Regions from separate parts of the Homo sapiens genome. Here region 2 is linked to region 1. The links are contacts of gene promoters, found by promoter capture Hi-C in human tissues and cell types (Jung and others, 2019). All regions are on one chromosome and are shown on one strand. Each heading gives the region's core, a stretch centred on a gene start or on the middle of the fragment in contact. The rest is flanking DNA. Distances are from core to core; before and after follow the strand shown. Region 1 holds the start of SPO11 (SPO11 initiator of meiotic double strand breaks). Region 2 has its middle 150 kb from the start of BMP7-AS1.

Region 1 (3,304 bases), core at 212-2,711:
TGGAAAGAATAAATTGTGAGTTCTGCAACAAACGGTTGACTTGGCAGCTATTACGCCACTCTACAGCAAAATGCGAAGACTAAGCCCAGTTTTCTGTCAGCTGACTGTTAATTTCACAAGCCATCAGCTGCAAAAAATGTTGTTCTGTTATAAACACCATGAGCTTATTGTCTAGGAAGAGAAATCAAATGCACTCTAGAAAACGGGCAAAATGTTGAGAGTTTTAATTTCCACAGGAACTTCAGAATTTTTACTGAAAACTTGTGTTTCAGAAAATGAATTTTAAAACATTTAATCTATTCTAATATTGGGAGGTAAAAACTGACCCAAATACTCATTTTTCCTAGTTTGGAGAAAAAAAGTGTTGCAGGATAATACTGTAACCAACTTTAAGATACAATCAGATTCGTCTACATCTGCGATATTAACAAGGGACTTGCCACTCTCCTTTTCCCTCACTCTCCCAAGTTCTCCCTCAAAATAAATTCTTTTGTAAAAATTGGTTTGTTTGTAGGTTTTTCAGATTTTTTGGTGGTTGGTTTGGGCTTAAAAATAAAAGGCTGAAAAACTTTGCTCAACCAAGAAAGCAAGTCGAGGAAACAAAATAAAGTATTTTTAAGTGAAAATGGTCAATAACGTAGTCATGTTTTCTGTGGTTAATTCTAACATGGATAGCTGGAGGGTTCCTGTAATTGATTTTAAATAAATCATTTAAAATATGTACATTCTCTCCACTTGCAAAACAATTAAACATGTTGTCTTATTATAAACCACTTAAAATGTGTTGATGTCCTTGTTAATTCTGAGAAAACCATTCGCTTACTGAGAGAAGACATACAACACTCATTTTCTTTCTAAAAAAAAACCAAAAAATAAAAACCAAAAAAAACCCTTAAAGTTTAACCAAAAATTTTATCCCAAAAAACGTTTAAAAAATACAAAGCTAACTGTACCCCAAACTCCCCAACCTATAAGGATCTTAGGAAACCTTCCAACCCAGCTGCAGGGAGCCTCTGGAACGTTCTAGAAGGGGAACATCCTAGAAGCCACAGAAGGGGGGCTGCCACCTGGCTTTCTTTTTTGAGTTCAAAATAAGGGTTCAAAGCAGGTCACGGGTACTCAGGAAGGATCTTTTTGGGGGTTCCTGGCTGGCCCGCCAAGGGGTGCCTCCTCAGCCTCAACACTAGGAGGCAGCCCGGGGCCAGGAAGAGCGCCCGACTTTTCTACAGAGTGGCTGCGTCGCGCCTCGGCACCAGCTCCTGTACCTGGAGGCCAGGCGGCTTCCCCCAGTTGGGGGCTCCCTGCCACCTCTCCTCAGGGCAGCCAGCAGGGACTCCCTGTGTCGGTCCAAAACGTCGAAGAACGAGGCCTCGGGCCCCATAGGTGCAAAGGCCATGAGGGCAGACGGCTGCCAGAAGCTCCAGAAGCCCCTGTCCTAGGCTGCGCCCTTGGGGCGTGGCTGCGTGCCTTTCCCGCGCTTTCTGAGCGGCCGGCGTGCCCACGCCACACACCCAGAGGCGGGGCTGGACAGGCGTATGCGTAGAGCACGGCGTGGAGTGCGCAAGCGCAGGGCTCTCAGGCGCGGTCCCACCTGTGAGGCCCTGAGGCGGGCGCCTCCCTGAGTGTGGGTCGCGCAGGCATCGGCCCTGCGTGGCTGAGCTGAGAGATGTTTGTGTGGCGTGCTGCGGATATTGGACCTAGAGTCCCTTGAGGTGATTTAATTATTTTGGGGGTTGGCTATTTAGGGACAGCAATATCAGCGATTTTTCATTAAAACACATAATGATGAAGATCCAGCTGTGTGGGATAACAGTTCTCGGCAATGGGTTCAGCTGTGATTGAGGTGAACGCAATCCCTGTCCTTACTAACGTTTCATAGCAGTTGAATGCCTCCAAAGCCCTTTGCACTCAGGTCCCTCTTCTAATTCCCTTAAGAACCCCAGGAAGTTCCTAACGTGTCATCCTAATTTTGCAGGTGCCAGGAAAGGTCAGCTCAGAGCAGGCAGGCCTGGGTTAAAATCCCAGCCCTCGCACTCCGTAGGGCAGACCAATTTGGCAAAGAAAATCCAGGACAACCAGTTAAATTAGAATTTCAGATAAACAGCAAATCCTTTTTTTTTTTTAGAGTAACTACGTCTCGTATAAAGTTTGGGATATACTTTTACTAAAAAGTTATTTTGTAGCCTTGCACAGTGGTACTCACCCGTAGTCCCAGCTACTAGGGAGGCTGAGGCAGGAGGATGGATTTAGAGGCTCCAGGAGTTGAAGGCTGCTGTGCGCTAGGATTGTGCCTGTGAATAGCCACTGTACTCCAGGCTGGGCAACACAGGGCGATCCCTTCTCAAAAAAAAAAAAATAGTTCTTTTTTTTTTTAAGTGAAAGGTCTCACATATTTATTACTGAACCCAGCCAACCAACGCATTCATCACAGATTCAGAGAGAAAAAATATATTCTCAATAAAACATGTACAACTCTCCAGAGAGCGGTGACATTTTCAGCTTGATGTGGTAACATGACTGTGACCTTCAGACAGCATAAATATGTGTGCCCTCTCATGTGCAATTCCTTATAGGCCCAGCTCGGTTCTTCTTCAATGTCTCCTTTTGGAGTTGTACCTGATTTTATTATCAGTTTTCATCCGAATCCACTGGGGACGATTTTGCTTTTGTTTCTTGGCCAGGAATTGCTTAATCCCAAAAGTCTTGTGGGAAAGACATGGCGAGAAGTGGAGTCAAGCACACACCACGATGGCAGAGAAAGGAATGTTATTTCATTGTTTATGTGAAATTCAAACTTAACTGGCATCTTGTATTTTATGTAGCTCCTCTCCCTCTATACCATGTCATCCCCTGACAGACTTGGTGAGTGGTGCCTTTCCCCCACTTGCTCCAAGCCTTCTAGAGCAGAAGATAGGAATTCTGAAGCCCAAGGAAAGGAGTCCTGACTTTGGGAAGGAGGAGAGGACAGTGGAGCGAGACCCTGGAACAAGGTGGTTCCAAGGCCTTTGGGGGCCTGGTCCTGCATGGGTGGGGTGCTGGGGCTTGGCCCCAGAAGAGCTACTTGGGAGAACTGTTTTGTTCTTTCCGTTCCTGGTAATTTGATAATTTTCCAACTAAAACTAGTTTCCCATCATAAATAATGCACTCCCTCTGTTCACAGGGATGGTTGCCTGTGTTGATGGCTGTTCTGCATGTACCAAGCACTGTGTTGATGGCTTTACATTGCTGTTATCACAAATACTTCCTCACTGCCTACCTTGCACCGGGCAAGGTTTATTACCGAGGACACAGCTGTGAACAAGGC
Region 2 (3,304 bases), core at 585-3,084, 260 kb after region 1:
CTGTTGCTTGCAACGAAAGAATCCTAGATCACTCAAAGTTCCCCAATGCTTGACTTCCTGCCACTTTTTTCAGATCCCCTTTTCCTTATTCTCCCATTGTCTGACACTTATGTTCCCTAAGTGTCTTCTTTCCTCATCTCCAGTGCCATTTCCCTCCCCCATCCTGCAGGAAAATTTTACCTTTTCTGCCCACTCTTTTCTCTCTCAGCTCTTTATTTTGTAGATTGTCTTAATCAGTCTCTTTAAAGCCTTTCTCTGTCCTTCCATCAAATCCAGGCTTTCTTGACCTTCTGGCATCCCAGAAAGGAGGTCCAAGAACCCAAAGGGTTTGATAGAGAGTGAGTCTCCCCAGAGGGCAGGAGACAAAGTGATGGTTGAACTGGACTAACGCCCCTTTGGCCAGCAAAGGAGGGGTTGTTGGTAAATGCCTCATCTTTACTCTGTCACATGAGAAAGGCTGCCACAGGTGAAGAACTTGTGTGCCACTCCCACACTCATCTCCCCTCATCCTGCCAATGAGGGAGACTTCCTTCCACCACAGTAATTTTACGTGTCAACTTGATTGGGCCACAATTAATGCCCAGATTAAACATGATTCTTGGTGTGTTGGTAAGAGGGTTTCCAAATGGGATTAACATTTGAATTGGTTCACTTAGCAAAGCAGATGGCCCTCCCCAATGTGGGTGGGCCTTGTCCAAATTGTTTAAGGGCCTGTATAGAACAAAAGGCAGAGAGAAGAGGGCTTCACCCTTTTGCTTCCTGTCTACCAAATGGAGCTGGGACATCTCAGCTCATCCTCTCTCGCCCTTGGACTAGGATTTGCAACATCAGCTCCCCAGGTTCTCAGGCCTTCAGACTTGGGCTGAATTATCCCAGATCCTCCTGGGTCTCCAGCTTGCAGATGGCAGATAGCAGGGCTTCTCAGCCCCCGTATCTATGTAAGCCAATTCCTCTTCATACATATATATATATACATATATATATATATCTTCTATTGCTCTGTTTCTCTGGAGAACTCTGACTAATACACTTACCATCCCCGTCTTCCAGGGGTGGAAACTGAGTCTCAGAGGTGAAGACACTTGTCCTAGGTCCCCCAGCCAGGAGGACTTTTTTCCTGGGGTGGAATTCACATCTGCCTGTCTTTGGAGCCCTTACTGAAGCCCAAGGCTGTTATGAGGGCTTTCTTGTGTTGCTATAAAGGAATCCCTGAGGCTGGGTAATTTACAAAGAAAAGAGGTTTAACTGGCTCACAGTTCTGTAGGCTGTACAGGAAGTGTGATGCCAGCATCTCCTTGGCCTCTGGGGAGGCCTTGAGCTGCTTACAGTCCTGGCAGAAGGTGAAGGGACAGCCTGTGTATCACAGGTCAGAGCAGGAGCAAGAGAGAAGTGGGGGGAGGTGTCACACACTTTTAAACAACCAGATCTTGTGAGAACTCACTCACTACCATGAGGGCAGCATCTGCTAGGAAGGATCGCCCCCAGGACCAAAAAACCTCCCACTGGACCCTACCTCCAACACTAGGGATCACAATTCAACATGAGATTTAGAGGGGACAACATCCAAGCCACATCAGCTTGTGTCTTCCCTGTTAACTCTTCCTTCCTGCTAATGATACTGTAATCAACAGAGCCCTGAGCCACTGGCTAGAGGAGGTCTGGTTGTGATTTATTCCAGTTTGGCCTCATCTGTAATCAGAACCACCCTAAACAGGAAACAAAGGGATGTCTCCATCCCTGGGACCCCAGGAACCCCGGCAGGGCCTCCAGGAGGTTCTGCCAAGGGTACGACCCGTGTGGGCTGCAGCCCTGATGTTATTCCTTCCCTGAAAGTGCAGCCCTAAGGAGATTGTCACGGAAGGTGCACTTGTGATCAGCAGCCTGAAATTGAGGTTTCCTCACCCAGGGACAGAGCCATGTTCCCAAACACCTGGAAAAGATGAGTCCAGATCGCTTCTCCCAGCCAGCAAAGTCAGAAAACTGACTGCAGCTTTTCATTTCTCCACTGGTCTTTGTTGTGCAGACAGAACTTAACAAGGAGAAAGGGTTTGGGAGGATCTGCGTGTCTGCTCAGTTTTCTGTCTTTTATTTATTCCTTTGGTGGGTTCATGACATGGGAACTGCTAGAATATGCCCATTGTAGGAAAATTAGCAGATGCAGGCAGACCAACAGAAAATTGTTTTAAAACCTCTACTGTGACTCATCCGCAGAGCATCACAGTTGATAGACTGGTATAGAATGGGTGTTTCTTTTTTGAAAAATGAAATACATGCTTACATTCTGCTTGGTGACCTGCTTTTTGAACGTGATGATCTTCATCGGCGCTCTCAACATTGGAAAGCATGGTGTAGTAGCTATCTGTTTTGTGGGACTGTTTCGCTCTGTTTGTTCATTAGCCAGGCCAGCTCCATCCTCCCTTCCGACAGGACTGCTCTGATTTTCCTTTGAGAATCTTTGCTCACAGCGTGCAGCCTTGGTCCCCCTGTCTCTCTCTCTGTCTCTTTCTCTCTCTTCTCTCTGTCTGTCTCTCTCTCCCTTTCTTTCCCTCTCCTCTCTTCCTTTTGTTGAGACAGATAACTTTCTGACGCCTTCCCTTCACCCCCCACCCGACGTTTTTCTGTAATTACCAGGATTCCAGACTCTGGGACATAACAAAGCCCGAGGTAAACCACAAGCATTTGACACGGCCTCAGTCTCAGTTTGCAGAGGGCCTGTTTGACAGCTTCGAGAGCCACATGAAGAAGCTTCTCAGTTCTGAGCAGGGCTACCCTTCTGGGCTGCTCAGTGACAGATAATATTTTCTAAGACTTTAATTAAATCCAAACCCCTGATACAAAGGGGTGGCCCTCCATGGTCACTCAACAGCCCAGGGGCCATCTGGGGCATGGTGGGAGCCAGGGTCCCTGGGGAGTCTGAGAGCCGCTGAGGCTGAGGGCTGTCCTCAGCTGGATGTGGCGATTCCACAGCTGAGGAATCTTGAGCTTAGAAAATCCAAATCATTGATGATGGGCAAGCAAACATGATCAGCCTTTGCCCTGGAGGGAGACATCAACTTTGTAAACAACGGCAAACAAATCTGGCTGCTGCCCCAGAGGGAGACACTTTTCTGTCTACTAAGTTGTTTTCTTGTAAAGACAGTATAGAAGAAAAGCTGTCAGTGCCTCTGCTCACAAGATGTGCAGAAATGGGAGACACCATAGAGAATTTTCTCTCAATGTGAATGAAACAGGAAGAGGAGAAGTGTCAAGAAAGATGTTTCTTTGATGTTGTCAGAGTGTGAGGCTGAGATGCTAGGAAGCTCTA

The links. Contacts are between HindIII fragments. The study calls those that stand out against the background at their distance.
Region 2: a contact is called between a fragment that was not itself captured here and the fragment with the promoter of SPO11 in region 1, in 3 of the 25 tissues and cell types used here (heart right ventricle, mesendoderm cells and thymus).

What each region holds. Positions count from the first base shown.
Region 1 is chr20:57,327,960-57,331,263 of GRCh38, reverse strand. SPO11 (SPO11 initiator of meiotic double strand breaks) reads right to left here and starts at 1,461. Exons shown (of 13, transcript NM_012444.3): 1 at 1,266-1,461. The coding sequence starts at 1,396. LOC105372687 (a long non-coding RNA gene) reads left to right here and starts at 1,600. Exons shown (of 12, transcript XR_007067670.1): 1 at 1,600-1,843; 2 at 3,161-3,304. It also overlaps the pseudogene RPL39P39. The HindIII fragment of the contact is 7,446 bases long and covers 1-3,304 here.
Region 2 is chr20:57,065,202-57,068,505 of GRCh38, reverse strand. No RefSeq gene overlaps it. Among named protein-coding and RNA genes, the nearest start is that of BMP7-AS1, 150 kb to the left of the region's middle. RefSeq lists an enhancer at 2,910-3,304. The HindIII fragment of the contact is 5,357 bases long and covers 1-3,304 here.